Linked DNA regions of Homo sapiens: all the other regions are linked to region 1. Evidence: promoter capture Hi-C in 16 types of primary human blood cells and fetal thymus (Javierre and others, 2016). All regions are on one chromosome and are shown on one strand. Each heading gives the region's core, a stretch centred on a gene start or on the middle of the fragment in contact. The rest is flanking DNA. Distances are from core to core; before and after follow the strand shown.

The links. Contacts are between HindIII fragments. The CHiCAGO score rates a contact against its expected background, and 5 or more counts as called.
Region 2: a contact is called between a fragment that was not itself captured here and the fragment with the promoter of GMCL1 in region 1, in 6 of 17 cell types (total CD8 T cells, naive CD8 T cells, naive CD4 T cells and 3 more). The highest score is 7.9, in total CD8 T cells.
Region 3: a contact is called between a fragment that was not itself captured here and the fragment with the promoter of GMCL1 in region 1, in 5 of 17 cell types (naive CD8 T cells, non-activated CD4 T cells, total CD4 T cells and 2 more). The highest score is 7.7, in naive CD8 T cells.
Region 4: a contact is called between a fragment that was not itself captured here and the fragment with the promoter of GMCL1 in region 1, in 1 of 17 cell types (total CD8 T cells). The highest score is 6.0, in total CD8 T cells.
Region 5: a contact is called between a fragment that was not itself captured here and the fragment with the promoter of GMCL1 in region 1, in 2 of 17 cell types (naive CD8 T cells and total CD4 T cells). The highest score is 6.0, in naive CD8 T cells.

What each region holds. Positions count from the first base shown.
Region 1 is chr2:69,827,719-69,831,070 of GRCh38, forward strand. GMCL1 (germ cell-less 1, spermatogenesis associated) reads left to right here and starts at 1,942. Exons shown (of 14, transcript NM_178439.5): 1 at 1,942-2,434. The coding sequence starts at 2,175. It overlaps LOC124906021 (a long non-coding RNA gene), which reads right to left and starts at 1,813. Exons shown (of 2, transcript XR_007086846.1): 1 at 296-1,813. RefSeq lists enhancers at 978-1,899, 1,294-1,383, 1,900-2,820 and silencers at 1,794-2,023, 2,404-2,483, 2,431-2,606. The HindIII fragment of the contact is 7,336 bases long and covers 1-3,352 here.
Region 2 is chr2:69,646,255-69,649,839 of GRCh38, forward strand. It overlaps a transcript of ANXA4 not described here. Among named protein-coding and RNA genes, the nearest start is that of AAK1, 4.3 kb to the left of the region's middle. The HindIII fragment of the contact is 9,897 bases long and covers 1-3,585 here.
Region 3 is chr2:69,627,091-69,630,393 of GRCh38, forward strand. The region is part of intron 2 of AAK1 (AP2 associated kinase 1); the gene reads right to left. Among named protein-coding and RNA genes, the nearest start is that of AAK1, 15 kb to the right of the region's middle. The HindIII fragment of the contact is 6,287 bases long and covers 1-3,303 here.
Region 4 is chr2:69,681,446-69,684,752 of GRCh38, forward strand. It overlaps a transcript of ANXA4 not described here. Among named protein-coding and RNA genes, the nearest start is that of AAK1, 39 kb to the left of the region's middle. The HindIII fragment of the contact is 1,579 bases long and covers 1,145-2,723 here.
Region 5 is chr2:69,602,414-69,605,866 of GRCh38, forward strand. All of the region lies in intron 2 of AAK1 (AP2 associated kinase 1), which reads right to left. Among named protein-coding and RNA genes, the nearest start is that of AAK1, 40 kb to the right of the region's middle. The HindIII fragment of the contact is 1,079 bases long and covers 904-1,982 here.

The DNA.
Region 1 (3,352 bases), core at 692-3,191:
CTTCTTCCCTCACTCACCTCTGGCCTATTGCAAGTAGGAAGCTGGTTTCTGGGGAAAGGGAGACCATGGGCTTCTCTTCTTTTTCCACCTAGGTTTCCTTCAATGTTCTCCCCCTGCCCCAACCTACCATGTCTGGGTTGTAGCAAAGAAGAGAGTTAAGGGGAGCAGGAAAGTTGTTACCTGACTGTCATTGCTGTGGTGGTAGAGGATCAGCCCTATGTGACCCTGACAGACTAAAGTTGATTCTTGTGGGCATTCTTGTGGGTTCCTTTGTCAACCTCATCACGCTACTCACCTGAGGTTCCTCTGGCAAGGCAAATGTGTACTCCTTTTTCAGCCTCTAGGAATTTGGTGACTCTTTGAGGTTCTCAGTGCTGAAGTTCATTGCCTTCCTCCCAGGCCTGTTGGGCAGGACCTAAGCTGTCTCATGGTGGTCCACATCTGCTCCATGGGAAACACCTGCACGTTCTTTGTGCTGGCAAATTCTGTGTATGCAAGCTGATCCCTCTGCAGCCATTATTCTCCGCCTCCCACCTCCACCCCAAGCTGCCTCGGCTAGCCTCTCTCGGTTCAGATTTCTCATGCATGAATCAGACATTAGTCCACGGGGACCCTCAAACTACGTATACTGCCAATGGGAGTCTAAATTGGTACCTTGATGCAATCAACCCAGAGAGCAATTTGGTAATAGCTAACAAAGTTGCAGATTTCGCAGCAAATTCACTTTTGGGAATCTGCTTGGTGAATCCATTGCACATGATGTTCATTGCTGCTCTGTAAGGCCGTTAAAGTAGAAATAACCTCTCTCACTAAGGAATGTAAAAACAAATATGGGTCAGTCATACAATGAGCAGTGAAAATTATCTAGCGATTGACCAAATGGATAAATCTTGAGAGTATAATTTTGAGAGAGGAGAAAGGTGCACAATGAGAGGTACAACTATGATTCCATTCCATGATATGTCTAAACATGCAAAAGAAAATATTATTTATGGGTATGCATATAAGGACATGCATGGACATGATATACAACATTCTCAGCACAGTGATTGCCACTGGGGAGGGAGACAGAATGAGATGGAGGAGGTACGCAGGGGCTTCTGCCTATATGTATTGTTCTATTTAAAAAAGAATGAATCATTGATTACACCTCAATAAAGCTGGGAGGAAAAAAGAATGAAAGCAAGTCTGATAAAATTTCAAGCTAGTGGTCGGTCCACAGGAATCTGTATTACTCTATTTGAAATATTTTCATTATTTTACTTAAAAAGTAACAGAAGGGAGTCAGGGAATGAACGCTGGCTGTCCGGAGTCCATCACAAGAGCTGCTACTACTCCAAGCAGACACTAGTAAATTTTGCTAGGGCCTCCTGAAGGCACTTTTGAGTCCAGACAGTCATGGTGCCAGACCCTATTCGGACATCCCACTGGCACTTGAGAGGAAAGGAAAGGAGTGCCGGGAACGTTCCCATAACTTAACGGGTTCCATTCACGTCTACAGCAGGGGAGGGCTCATGTTAAGGAAGCCCAGGAATCCAGCATATCGCCTCATCCTAGGGCCCCCTCTCACAGGAGGCCACGCCCAAGCAAGCAGAGCGTGGCCCCAGCAAGCGCCGAGCTCCCGCAAGGAGACCAAATAGCTTCGGGGTTTTGCCACTAGCTTAGCACAGGCCCATAAGCACCGGGGACTCAAGGCACCTTTGTAGAAACAATGAGTGACTGGAGTCCCAGGTCTTGCCACTACAGAGGCGCGTATGAACCACGGTTTAACACTACGTCTACGCCGAAGTTCGGGTTAGTCAGAGGCCACGCCCACCGCAGGCCCGAAAACACCAGCCTGCACTGGCGCGCCGGATTGTGCGCAGGCTCCACCTGCCACGCACGCACGCCTTGCCCCGCCCCTTCCGGAGGCTCGCCGTACGCATGCGCCCTCCGTCCCGCGCTTTGTTGCGAAAGCGAGGGGGCGAGGTGCTGCGGTGCTAGAGCGCGGCGCGACCGGACGCTGCGGGCGGGGAAGAGGATGGAGACTGTGGCGTCCGCTGCAACGGTTGGGGCTGCGCGTGAGAAGGTGGCGGTGTAGGCACCTGCGCTCGGGGAAGGCTGGCGGCGGCGGCCGAGCCATGGCGGGAGACCCCCTTCTCTGGGCTCCCTGAAGTCTCGGGGAGCCGTGACCCATGGGATCGTTGAGCAGCCGGGTGCTGCGCCAGCCAAGACCAGCCCTTGCCCAGCAGGCGCAGGGTGCCAGGGCGGGGGGCTCGGCCCGGAGGCCGGACACTGGAGACGATGCGGCGGGCCACGGATTCTGTTACTGTGCGGGCAGCCACAAGCGCAAGCGGAGCAGCGGGTCCTTCTGCTACTGTCACCCTGACTCGGAGACGGACGAGGATGAGGAGGAGGGGGACGAGCAGCAGCGGCTCCTCAACACCCCTCGAAGGTACGTGGGGGCACGCACCCGCGCGGACCCGGACCCGCACCTGTTGGGCCTGGGGCCGAGCCGGCGCCTCGTGCGCTTGCGGGGTGCAGCGCTCCCCAGCCTATGGAGAGGGGACGTGCCCTTGACAGGGTGAATGTGGAAGCCGGCCCGATGCGGGGCGGACTGGGGAGCGCCTTGGGAGACGCCAGGTGTTCCGCATTTTCAACCACAGACGCTTCCAGGGTGTTGTTACAGCCCCAAGATGAGGATGAGAAACGCCAAGCCCGAGCTCGCGTCTCGTTAAACCTTAGAGACGCCCGGCTGGCTGGCCTTCCCAGTCCACCTTTGCCCTCTCAAGTGGGTAGCCGCAGAGTAAGTTGTTTTGCATCCGGTTGCCTTAGTACAGACACTAAATGTAATCTCTGAAATAGGCACTCTTATTGTCGCCCACTCAGTGGAGGGTAAGTAATTGCACACAGGAGTTCTTGTTAATTGTAAAGGTGAAGTTTATCAATAGTGTACATTTGTTCCTAACTAGGAACAGAGTCTGTGCAAGTTTCTAGTAGTTGATGAAGTCGTTGACCGTGGATGTACTGTATGTAGGGCGGTGCTGCTGCAGCTTGTTTAACCCCTTTTTTTTTTTTTTTTGGATGAGTTGAAAGATGGAATATTGACTTGTGACCTGGAATGTAGTTTATAGGTAGAATATATGCTTACACAAACAATTTGGTTTTTCTGCTTTTGTTTTTAAAGGTTATTTGGTAGGGTCACACATGAAATTTTTTAAATGATTTCTTTTTCTTTTTGAGACAGAGCCTTGCTCTGTCACTCAGGCCGGAGTGCAGTGGTGCGATCTCAACTCACTGCAACCTCCACCTCCTGGTTCAAGCGATTCTTGTGCCTCAGCCTCCCGAGTAGCTGGGACTACCGGCGCGCACC
Region 2 (3,585 bases), core at 17-2,516, 180 kb before region 1:
AAACTATCACACTTTCTGTATAATTTGTCCCATGCTGCTTTGCATTCCTGTTCAACTTTTAATGTATATTGCTGTCTCAACCAAACACCTCAAAGCCAGAGAACCATCTTCTACTTATCTCCTTGGGCATCCAGTATAATAGTTTACATAGAGTGTGTTCTTAGCAGTACTTAAAGTAAATAATTTACTTTAAATGTGACACAAAACAGAGCTATCTGATTAAGGTGGAAAGATTGATTTGAAGTATCCTAGATGAATTTTGAACTAGGTGTGGAAGATGCTATGGGTAAATAGTCAAAGGGAGTGGGAAAAGAAAGTGCCATTTACTATTGTTACAATAGTGATCATATGACCGATGGAACAGACTCTTTGAGGCAATAAGATGCCAAATTATAAACAAGACCTAAGGCTGTGTCAGGCAAGGGTTAAGTCACACATCCCTACACTTGAAGAGTAAACCATCTTCTAACTGCCACAAGGTTTTTCTTTTTCTCTGGTAGCTAAATAGACACTGGCCTGGAGATAAGCAATATTGAATCAATTGTAGCTCACTGACCACTAGATGCTGACTAACTGTATCCCCCCAACCCCTGTTCCACAAACCATAACTATTTCTTTGATTGGACAAGAGACTGATTTCAGTAACATCCTAGTAAGAGACTACCAACCACAGACTGGTTCTGGCTGGTTTTCAGAGGCTGTGCACTGAGTGTCTTCATGTCCTTTGCTTCACCTAATTGTAATGCATTTAAATGTTAAATCTCCACCCCAAAGAGAACATAGGACATATGTAACATGCATGTTTGCTCACTATGCATGCATGTGCTGCCCCCCGCTTTGTGAATAATCAAAGCTCCTGTAACTTAAGTGTGTATTCTTAGCCAACTCATTTGGCATAAATTTGTGTTCCACTTTTTCCTCCCTCTAAATACCTGCTTTCAGTCTCTGCCAGAGTCTACACTTCCCAGCCTGTCAGGATCACCAGCCTGCAGGCTGCAACCCTTTATAAAAAGTAAAGCTCCCCTCTCCAAATTTATAAACCTTGGGATTCTTCAGTTAACACTATGTATCTTCCATATGCCAGTTATGGAATTTAAAAAATATATATATATTGTTTTATTGTTTTATTTTTATTTTATTTATTTATTTATTTATTTATTTATTTATTTTTTGAGACAGAGTCTCACTCTGTAGCTCAAGTTGTAGTGCAGTGGCGTGATCTCGTCTCACTGCAACCTCTGCCTCCCAGGCTCCAGCGATTCTTGTGCCTCAGCCTCCCGAGTAGCGGGGACTACAGGTGTGTGCCACCATGCCTGGCTAATTTTTTGTATTTTAGTAGAGACAGGGTTTCACCATGTTGCCCAGGGTGGTCTTGAACTCCTGAGCTCAGGCCATCCACCCACCTTGGCCTCCCAAAATGCTGGGATTACAGGCATGAGCCACCACGCCCAGCCACTTTTTAAAAAAAATAATTATATAAAAAATAGAGATGGGGTCTTGCTTTGTTGCCCAGGCTGACCTCAAACTCCTGGACTCAGGTGATCCTCCCACCTCAGCCTCCCAAAGTGCTGAGATTACAGATGTGAGCCACCGTGCCTGACTGATATTATTTTATTTAATCTTCATGGTTGCCTACAAAGTAGACAGTATTATCTATTTTATCAAAGAAAATACTGTTACACTATTATTCCCAATTTTATAGATGAACAATGAAGATTTTGTTAGTAGCAGATGAACATGTATGGTTTGTTAAGTTTGAAGGAAATGATTTGACCTGTGGTACACCTAAATCATGTTACCATAAACCCAGTGTGCTGTATCTTTGAGGAAATCAAAGGAAAGGGGACCACCATTAATTAAAATCCTTAACTGAGTCAAGCACTATGTTGGGTATTTAATCATACCATTTAACCCTCACAATACATCTATGAAGTGTGCATTACTTTTATTGGTGTGGAAACAGAGGCTGAGCAGGATTAGAGTCTGTCAACTATTTCTACAAAACATCTTAAAAAGGGCAGAGCCAAGACTGACCTCAAAACCCACATCATTTTCATTACACCATATGGGCTTTCTATGTTGCCGTCTTTTAGCGAAGTGGAACTTGTTAGAAATGCAAATTTTGGGGCCCCATCCAGACCTACTGAGTAAGAGGGAGGGGCAGAGGCAGCAGTTTCTGTTCACAAACCTTTCAGGTAATTCTAATACACATTCAAGTTTGAGAACCACTGTTTAGCAGAAGCGAACTTGTAAGAACCATGTCCTTTTTAAAAAAATGACAGTTCTTGCCCAGGCATGCTGGCTCATGCCCGTAATCCCAACACTTTGGGAGGCCGAGGCAGGTGGATCACTTGAGGTCAGGACTTCAAGACCAGCCTGGCCAACATGGTGAAACCCCGTCTCTATTAAAAATACAAAAATTAGCCGGGCATGGTGGCATGCACCTGTAATACCAGCTCGGGAGGCTGAGGCATGAGAATCACTTTAACCCAGGAGGCGGAGCTTGCAGTGAGCCGAGAGTGCACCACTGCACTCCATCTGGGGAGACAGAGTAAGACTCAGTCTCAAAAAAAAAAAAAAAAAAAAAAGACGTTTCTTGATTTTTTTAATTTTTAATTTTCTTTCTTTCTTTTCTTTTTTTTTTTTTTTGAGATGGAGTTTTGCTCTGTTACCCAGGCTGGAGTGCAATGGCACAATCTTGGCTCACCGCAACCTCCGCCTCCCAGGTTCAAGCGATTCTCCTGCCTCAGCCTTCCTGAGTAGCAGGGATTACAGGCATGTGCCACCACGCCTAGCTAATTTTGCATTTTTAGTAGAGATGGGGTTTCTCCATGTTGGTCAGGCTGGTCTCGAGCTCTCAACCTCAGGTGATCTGCCCACCTCAGCCTCCCAAAGTGCTGGGATTACAGGTGTGAGCCACCGCGCCCAGCCTAATTTTCTCTTTTAAACTGAGCCTTGTCTTCTTATTTTCCAGTTGATTTTGGTTTTGGATTTTGTTTAAGAAAGTAATTATGTGCTCATTGAAGAAAGTAGATAGAAGAAAATAAAAATCAGCTATAATTCTACCACTCAGCGATAATTGCTATTGACATTTTGATCAATTTCCTTTTAGCATGTTTCCATATATAAGTACCTTTTTTACTATATTAGATCACATTATATATTTATATTTTATTTTTTTCATTCCATAGTTTCCTATTTCATTGTATATTCTCTAAAAATATTCTTTTAGTAGTTGCTTAGTAATCAGTGCTTTACTGTCAAATGTTTTATTTTTAAATGTTACTTTTTATATGATTAGAATGAATATTCTCTTGTATTCTCTTGTGTGCTTCTTTGATTTTCTTTCTTTTTTTTTTTTTTTTTTTTTTTTTTAAGACAGTGTCTCGCCCTACCGCCCAGGCTGGAGTGCAGTGGCACAACCTCAGCTCACTGCAGCCTCGACCTCCTGGGCTCAAGCAATCCTCTCACCTTAGCCTTCTGAGTAGCTGGAACTACAGGCTCACACCACCACGTCTGGCTTTTTATTTTTTTATTTTTTTATTTTTGTAGAGACAGGGTTTCACCATGTTGCCGAGGCTGGTC
Region 3 (3,303 bases), core at 6-2,505, 200 kb before region 1:
CAGCCTGGCCAATATGGTGAAACCCCCGTCTCTACTAAAAATACAAAAATTAGCTAGGCGTGGTGGCGGGCGCCTGTAGTCCCAGCTACTAGGAAGGCTGAGGCAGGAGAATCGCTTGAACCCAGGAGACGGAGGTTGCAGTGAGCCGAGACTGCACCATTACACTCCAGCCTGGGTGACAGAGTGAGACTCTGTCTCAAAAAGAGAAAAAAAAAAAAAAAGATTCTCATGGAGCTGAAATTCTAGTGGGGGGAGTGGGAGTGATAAATAAATAATAAGCAAGAAAATCTGCTGATACATGCTACACGGTGAAATAAAACAGGATTGGTTCCTTACACTGGGCGGTAAAGGACAGCCTCTATGAAGTGGGATTTAAGTGAGCTCTGAATGACAAAAAGCCAACCAAGGGAAGACAAGAAGGAAGAACATTCCAGGAAAAGGCACCAGCCAAGCCTTAGACACTAAAGAAGAAACTATGTTCTATGCTCAAAAAAGATGAACAAGAATCACTGTGACTAAAAAGCAAGTGGTTGAGGGGAAGAGAGACACAAGCTATTGTAGGGGTTTGCAGGTCAGTGTGAGGAGTTTGGATTTTATTCCAGGTGGACTCCTCTTCCTCCACACAGTCTCCTTATGAGATCTCACTCCATTTCAGTTTTCATTCCTATCTTGTGGTTTTATGACAACTCCCACTCCAACTTTTCTCTACAATGCAGGCCAGTCCTATGCAACAGCATCCTGAACTACATCCATACTTGGATTTCCACTGATGGCTCATTAAAAAGTCCCTAACTGAAGCCCGTCTCTTTTCCTCAAACACTATTCTTTCTTCTTTTTATTGACACCATTATCTACCCAGTCACTTAAGCCAGTAGCCCAAGATCCAATCTAGCTTTCTGTCATCTGCAACATCTAATTATTAACACTGATTTTTCTAAGTTTAAGGTAAAGATATAGAAAGAAGGAAAGCAGAAAAAAAGGAATGGAATCTTTCACCTCCAGTAAGAATGATACCTCCCTGTGAGGACCATACGTAGGCCAAGGTTAACAATCCACCTCAAAACTATTGTCTTGGCTGGGCGTGGTGGCTCACGCCTGTAATCCTGGCACTTTGGGAGGCCGAGGTGGGAGGACTGCTTAAAACCAGAAGTTTGAGACCAGCCTGGGCAACATAGCAAAACCCTGTTTCTTTTCTTTTTTTTTTTAATGTTTTCTTATCCCAGCTACATAGGTCTAACATTTCCGTCTCATCAACCCAATCTCATTCTCCCTCCCAAATAGTGTCAACAAAAACCACAGAACTTAAAAACCATGTTTGCACTAGAAGAGACCTTCAAGATCACCCGGTGATCTCCTTATTCACATAAGACAAGCTCAGAGAGGGGAAGTGATATATCCAAGATCACTGAAGAGACCAGATAACCTACTTCCCTATCTCATACAGTTGTTCATTTGTGTTCTGTGAGCTAACCCTAGAAGCAGGATTTGATGGTAGACTTGAACAACACTCTGTCATACCACCTTAAAAATCACCACATAATTGCTGGGTGAGTAGACAGCCACTTAAATAACCCATTTGATGTTATACTGATTCTAACACTATGATTTTAAAAGAGAAAGGAATACTTCATCTTCTGAGGAAGTCTCTATGATCTAAAATTAACTTTTTTCAAGGAAATTCTCATCATTGGTGAGCGAGCCACCTAGAGCTGACCTTTCAAAAATGCTGTGGAGCTCACAGCAAACCACCACGCAGAATTTGCTGTTGATTGCTCTTTTCACTCCTCCTCTCTGAAACTAGCAAGAACAGGAAGAAATATGTTTGTTCCCAGAGGTACATACAGTACTCAACTACAGGTACCACCTCTCTAGACTCATTTTATAACTCAGCTGCTTAATGCCATATTTATCAGTCTTTTAAAAACCATATCTTCTTTGATAAATATGAAAATCTCACGTCTTCTCCACACTCCGACCTCTTAAGTCTATAATGTGCCTCTTTAGAGGGTATACAGCCAATCCCCATCTTCTTTGAGGTTCTCTCCTTTTCTGGCTGGACCTGGAGCCAATCTATGCATTTTCAAATTATATATTCCCTTCCTATTTGTGACCTGTCTGCATGCTCACTACCCCAAATACAAGTTAAAAATCACTGTCCTAATTTACTGCAGGCCAATGCCAATCATCAACTAGAAAATGAATGTATGCTTTGCTTAAAGATGAATTTCAGTAATATCTGAGTTTTTGACACATGAGCTAATTGTCTCCATCTTTACAGTATAGCATTTAAATGGTTTAGAGTTCCTTTATATAGCTAAGATACACCCTATATCTCTACTTTTGAGATCAATGGTACCAGACGCCAATAATTTAATCCAATCAATAGAGATTCACATGGCTTTCTGAAAGATGTTCTACTTTGCTTTGGATTTTGTTATTTCTCAACTTTACTGAAACTCTATAAGATTCAATAGTTCTTATTGTAATAAGCGAGGTGAAGTCCTCAAACACAGATCTATTATACGATTGGAATAGGGATAAATAAGGGAGGTTTGTATATCTCAAATCCGTCTAGTCTCTCCTGCCTGCCCAGCAAGTTTTAATTAGTACTGATTTACTGTAATATTCATCCAGTTAATTCATTCTCCAGTACCCACTGTTGCCATGTTCAAATTTACGAGTACTCAATTGGATACAAAATAAGCCTAAGGCAATAACTAATTATCTAACACTAGAAAGTAGATACAAACAAAATAAACAGTAAAATAAAACTTTGAGGTTATGGGCCCAAAAAAGTTAAGATAGCCAGCAAAAAAAGACAGGCATCCAGAGGCAGCTGTGGTGAATACCTAGGCTAGGTAAAATAAATCTTAGGTAGGACTAAGGTAGGCGGGTGGGGAAGGAGGAAATATCCCAGCTGCGGGGAACACCATGAGTAAAGAACTGGAAAGAACTAAATCCACGGTACAAAGATGGTGAGGAGGGCGCAGGCCTGGTGGAAGCAGCAGACCTGCGGCATTAGCACACAAGCATTTAAATTGGATAGGCAGCAGGTGCCAGGCATTCCTGGCAGGTAGAGAGGCCCATCATACTTATAAAAACTTGATAGGTTAAGAAAAACTCCCTGACACACAGGTAGCTTTCAAGAGGTGAGAGTTTAAAAAACAAAAATCAAACTACAATATTTCTCTTTCTCTTCTCCCTATTCCTCATCTGGGGGTTTGTGAATACTCTGAGTGGGGCGGGGGGTGGGGGGGGAGGGGGAGGGAGAGGGAGGGGGAGGGAGAGAGAGAGACCTCCTGT
Region 4 (3,307 bases), core at 684-3,183, 150 kb before region 1:
TATCCACCTCCTAGATTCAAGCAATTCTCCTGCCTCAGCCTCCTGAGTAGCTGGGATTACAGGCACGTGCCACCATATCCAGCTAATTTTGGTATTTTTAGTAGAAATGGGGTTTCACCATGTTGGTCCACCTGCCTGGGCCTTCCAAAGTGCTGGGATTACAGGCATGAGCCTCTGTGCCCGGCCCATTTCTGATTTTATTTATTTGTGTCTTCTCTCCTTTTTCTTGGTTAGTCTAGCTAGCGATTTATCAATTTTGCTTACTTTTTCAAAAAGACAACTTTTCATTTCATTGATCCTTTGTATTGTTTTTTAAGTCTGTATTTCATTTAATTCTGCTCTGATCTTTATTATTAATTTTATTCTACTAATTTGGGGTTTGGATTGTTCTTGCTTTTTTTTTTCCTTTGAGTCAGGGTCTTGCTCTGTTGCCCAGGCTGGAGTACAATGGCTCTATGATGGCTTATTCCAGCCTTGACCCTCTGGGCTCAAGTGAACCTCCCACTTTAGCATCCTAAGTGGCTGGGACCACAATTGTGCACCACTGTGTCTGGCTAAACTTTTTTAATGTTTTGTAGAGACAGGGTCTCCCTATGTTGCCTAAGTATGTTGCCTAAGCTGGTCTCAAACTCCTGGGCTCAAGCCATCCTCCTGATTCAGCCTCCCAAAGTGCTGGGACTACAGGAGTGAGCCACCATGCCTGGCCCGTTCTTGCTTTTCCAGTTCCTTGAAGGCATCTTTAGATCATTTATTTGAAATCTTCCTACTTTTTTGATGTAGGTGTTTATTGATATAAACTCCCCTCTTAGCACTGCTTTTGCTGTATCCCATAGGTTTTCGTACGTTCTATGTCAATTTCCATTTGTTTCAATAAATTTTTTTTAAATTTTCTTTAAGATATTTTACGTTTCTTCTATGTTGTGGAATCTATTGAGTTTTACTTTATGATTCATCCTTGCTTTTTAAAACATTTAATTTTATTTAATGGTTCAGTAATAATAAAGATACCCTTTTACATGTTTACAGTACCTCATTGTTTACATACACTATTTCAAGCTTTTGGAATAGGGACAACTAAAACAGATTCTTGTGTAAATGAGTTTCTTTATATAACTTCACATTCTTTATGTAATGGTTCTTTTGAAGCTTAACAAGTTCTTTCTCAACAACTGTATTTTTTTAATGTGGAATTGACTAAGTATATGAAAATATGAAATAAACAAAATAAAATGGAAAACTATGAGGTCCTTAGAAGTCACATTACATCCCTATATTTGGTGACATTTAAAGAGATGAATGACATCATTGAGAAGTAAGGAGAAATACAGTGCAGCAAATCAAGAACATGCCACTCATGTAAGAGTGAACATCTATCTCCAGGCATGAGAAAGGTCTAGAGAGTTCTTAACAAAATGCTGTCAGTGTTTATTTCTCAGTCTTGAGACGTCAGATGATTTTTATGATCTTCTTTGTGCTTTTCTAATTTGTTTAATATTTTACAGTAAGCATGTATCATTTTTACTAAAATATCCACGTTATTGTTTAAAACAGGAACAAAATTTTTCTACATGCACAAGGATAATAGTATTTGTCTATATTTTTTTCTGGTCTTTTAATTAAGTGTTTATACACACAGAGAGACAGGAATAAAGTTTTCCTTAGCATTTAAATAATTTCCAAGAAGTATATACATTCCTACATATGGGTTAAATAAACACACATATGTCAATAAACATATATTCTAACAAACTCAGGCCTGCTAAATGCGGCTAAAAGTTCCCAGTGAAAAGAACTCTTAGGTGAGCTATATTTTCTAATCTGCAGACCCTCCTACTGCATAACTCTGGATGATGTCATACAAACCTCTTCCTGCATCTGGGACTCTTTCCAGCTGCTACATGTGGGAGCTTCCCGTTTTTGTTCTAATTGAGTGATGTTTACTGGAAATGGAGTCTGCTAATAAGATCTCAGTTCAGATAGCTTTGTGGGGACAGGAAGAATGATTGTGAGATGAATTTGGCCAAAAACCTTTACTTTCTCCCTTGTCATTATCTTGTTTTGATAGGTTGGCTTAGTTTTGTTTTGAAATTACCTCTTCTGAGAAACCAAAGAGGAACGATATGCGCTGTCTTCTTCTTCCTCCTCCTCCTCCTCCTTTTCCTCTTCCTACCAAGACTCCCAACTCAGACTGTTTTTCAGTCTGTCCCTCCATACATACCTGCACACTCACACATCTACTAGAGAGTATATGGAGACAGCCAAGAGCCCTTAGAAAGATAGCTGGGTAATGTACTACTCTGTTCTCTTGAATTTGGATGGAACTTATGACAACACTTAGATGTGAACAAATAAGGCAAGAGAATTTGTCCCAGATTGCACAGCTGGTTATGGCAGAACAAAGCGGTGGTGAACCTAGATTTCATATCTCCTAGCTCAGGGCCTCTGGATTAAAACCCATAAACATTGTTCACATTTTTTTGGAACTATGCATAAGGGCAACTTAGAGAGTTCCAGGTAAGAGAATGCAGCATAACAAGAGTTGATTGTTTTAAGTTGTGTTATGTTAAAGATCAGCTAAGTAAAATTAAAGAGAAAAGCTGCTAAATATACTGAATTATTTCATTTTTGTGGATCTCCTTGATTGTGATTTGCGAGCTCAGAAGTATTAACAGTTTTTCTCAAAAATTTTAAGATGAAAAATTCTCAAGTCCAATTAATTGAAAAGCTTAAGACTACTCTATACCATGCTTCACTTTAGAAAGTAGGGAGCTTGTTGCAAATTCAAACAAGGATGTGGTGTCACAACTCATGAAAGGAATCTCTTATCAAATATCTATCCTACCATCAAATTGCCATTACATCTGCCCGAATGTACATGGGACACAGTTGCGTCAGAAAGGCTAAAGCTCCAAATAAGTTCACATTATTCTGAAACTATCAGATTATGTGATGGATATAATTTGGGTGTTACAGTCTTTGTAGTAAAGTTTGAGGAATGACACCAGGTATGGTCGAGTGCAGTGGCTCATGCCTATAAGATGAGCCTAGGCAACATGGTGAGATCCCATCTCTACAAAAAATACAAAAATTATCCAGGCATGGTGGGGTGGTGTGCACCTGTAGTCCCAGCTACTCAGGAGGTTCCAGTGGGAGGATTACTTGAAACCAGGAGGTTGAGACTGTAGTGAGCCATGTTTGTGCCACTGTACTCCAGCCTGGGCAACAGAGCAAGACTGTCTCAAAAAAAAAAAAAAAAGAAAGAAAGAGAAAAAAAAACCCCATCAGGTAAAATGTAGGGCCACTGTCA
Region 5 (3,453 bases), core at 193-2,692, 230 kb before region 1:
TATTATATACTGTATATAATTATAAAGGGATATTATATATTATGTGGCTGACTTTCAAATAACTCAGAAAAATATGATAAAACAAATGTAGCAAAATATTAACCATCGGTGAATCTGGGTGAAGAGTATATGTGAATCTTGTGTATCATTTTTCTACTGTTTATGTAACTGAAATTATTTCAAAATGAAATTTTTAATTAAGAAAAGAAAAGGACAAGATGAGTGAAAAGTCCAGCCCCCTGAGGCGCTCCTGACCACAGAGACTCAGGGTTCCAAGGCTGGCCTTCCTCCTTTGATACTGCAGTGACAAACAGGATGAGCAAAGACTTCAGAGCTGTGCAGATCTGGGTTCCAATCATTGTGCCTCACATAAACTAAGCTCACTAAAAAAAGATGGTATTTATTATTTCAAATTTTTAAAAAGCAACAGAAAAATATGAAACGCTTCCTCATTTATTTTATGGAGCAAGTTAAGTACAGCCCTAATACCAAAACTCTGGCATTCAGTACAGGTGAAAAGAAAACTATGTATTATCCCATTTACAAATTACTAGTAAATTGAATCAGGCAGTACATTAAAAGAATAAGACACCATGGCAAAATCAAGTTGGTTCAAAAAAGTAAGGATGAATGGATGGAGGGATGGACAAATATCAAGAAATTCATTAAAATAATTTATCAGTTATGGAAGTCAAAAAAGATAAAGACTTAGAAATTCAATAAAGAGGCATTTTCAACATTTGAACATCTTTTCCTGATTTTTAAATGTTTATTTTTCCAGTGGGACTGTTTATAACTTTTCTGATTATAAAAGTAATCATGATTATTGTAAAAATTTCCAAGTAAGGCAAAAGTGGGTAGAATAGAGTTTCCTCACAGTCCATGACACTGTGGAGTCTTTCAAGCTTGTGAAAGCATCTTTACAAGTAGGTAGATCACGAGCCAGCACGCAAGAAACAGAGGAGAGAGAGAGAGAGAACCCTATTCTGAGAATAAAAGGCAATTCCTCTGTTAGCTTGTGGGCTCTCACAAAGCATACCACTGATAAAATGGAGTCACACTATCGCCTCCCTTTCCATGATCTTCCCCCTCCTGCCTAACCAGCCATCACTGCAGAAGGTCGCAAATCCACATGTGAGTCACTTCAGAGCAGCTCTCCTCACATGTAGGTTCTCACCACTCAGATACTATCCATCCTCAGCTATGAAGGGCTCTGTGTAGAAAGATAAGAGGGTAAAAAATAAAAAATTTTAAGAGAGAACATTTAGGTATACAATTTAAAAGATGGGGAAATTAGAGAATTAAGGAGATACTGTGCAGAATTAAAATCATCATCATCATCATCATCATCATCTGCTTTGCAGGCTACACAGCGTAAGGAGCATATTATTTAGAGAACATTTGTGTTTAAATTCTCTGGTGTTTCAGGAGTTGGCAGCAGGTTTTCAGAACTCAGACATCATTTGAGTCATGGACAGAATTGGAAACCTGATGCACTGATGCTGTTTTCTATCTGTGGCTGAAAAATGAGGTATTTTCCGATAATAAGAGATATAGAATCCAAGAGGAAGCATACCCACTTCCAGTTCCAAATAACTTTCCTTGCAAAAGGCAAAGATCCTTCTGAAACTCGGTTAGTTAGAGAGTCTGATCTCATCCCTTCAGAACAACCAGAGCTCAAGGCTGCAGTAACCTGACTCTCCAGTGTTATTTTGACCAACTTCATAGAAACAAAAGCTGCCTTTGATGCACCTCAATGCCTAGCCACCTCACCAGAGAATCAAATATTAAAAATTAATCAGGCTGGCCAGACACCATTCAATGTCAGGCAGCTTTACACAGGAGGTGGAGCTCTGGGGTGACGTAGAGTGAATGCTTATCTTTCGTGTTGTCATGAACTTCTGTGATTTAGCTCACTGCCTATTTCTTCTCCTGGTCATGTCTAATTCTGGGTGGGCAGCTCTGCAGAGGCTGAGCAGCCAAGCTTCCATGTGGCCTCATTGCTTTCATGCTTCTTCTCCTCTCCAACTGTTTCTCTCCTCCTCTAGGGCACGACACCTCCAAATGCTCATTGCTAACTCACCCTCTTACCTTCTTGCCCCACCATAGTATCAGTGGACAAAATCCACAAGCTCGCAAGGTTTAAAGTCATCACCTCTATTCTGAAGCAGACACTGAAGGAACATACGAGCTGACACAGGGGTGGGATTTCACAGGATGGAGAAGGAACAGAGGGACACTCCAGGCTGAGGCAGAGACTTTAAAAACATGCTGAGGATGACTGGGGAAGTGGCAAGCGGTCCAGTGGGGCTGCACCTTAGGGTCCAATACGTCTCTAGCTCTGGCACTGCTTCTCCCGGGTGCCACACCCCAACTGCACCCCAGCCTCTCTGCATGGAGTCCCTCAGATACCTCACACTAAACATACCCTAGCCAAAACCTTTCTCCTTCTAGACTCTAAATTTTGGCTAATGGAGCCACCATGCTTTCAGTCAAGCTGAAAACTTAAGTCACCTCAGACTCTTCCCTCTCTGTCTCAACACACAGTACTTCAACAATTTGCATCAATGCTTCTCCAAAATGCTCTTGAATCCATTCCCTACTCTCAATTCCTCCTAGCACTAATTTCAGCCTTATGTCTCACCCGGGCTTTTACAGAGCCCCAGCATGTGCCACACAAACTCCCACTCTTCCCTGGAGTCAGCCCAGTCCTTGTGTCACTATGAAGCCCTCCCTACCCCAGCAGTTTGTCCCCTTTTTCCTTGCTCTCACCTTGCTGTGTACCTACCTTTACTACTAAAAGCCAGCACACAGAATGATCACTACTTAAAACTTGTTTCCTCCATTCAACAACAAATTTCTCAAGGGTAGACACTGTGTTTTGTAACTTCTGAAAAAGATGCTTCCCAAGCATCTTACATGGTATCCGAACATAGCATTTCACAATGAAATCATGGTAAACTAGTGGAAACCCTAACCATTCTCCTTGCTCTGCCTTTTCCTTCTTATGCATTTTTTCTAACTTTTTATTTTGAATTAAGTATAGATTCACAGGAAGTTGCGAAAATAGTGCAGAGGAGATCCACGTACCCTTCATCCAGTTTCCCCCAATGGTGACATCTGACATAACTATGGTACAACGTCAAAACCAGGAAACTGACATTGGCACAATCCACAGACCTTATTCACTCCAGGCTGAGGCAGAGACTTAAAAAACATGCTGAGGATGTTTTACACCAGTTTTACATGCACTCATATGTATGTGTAGTTGTATGTAAATTTATAATGTGTAGATGTGTGTAACCACAACCACAGTCAGGATACAGAACTGTTCCATCACCAAAAAGATCCCTTATGCTGCCTCTTTATAGTCATCCTCCGCTCCTACCTTCCCCCTGCCCCCACACTGCCCCTAATTCCTGGTAACCACTAATGTGTTTTCCATCTCTTCTA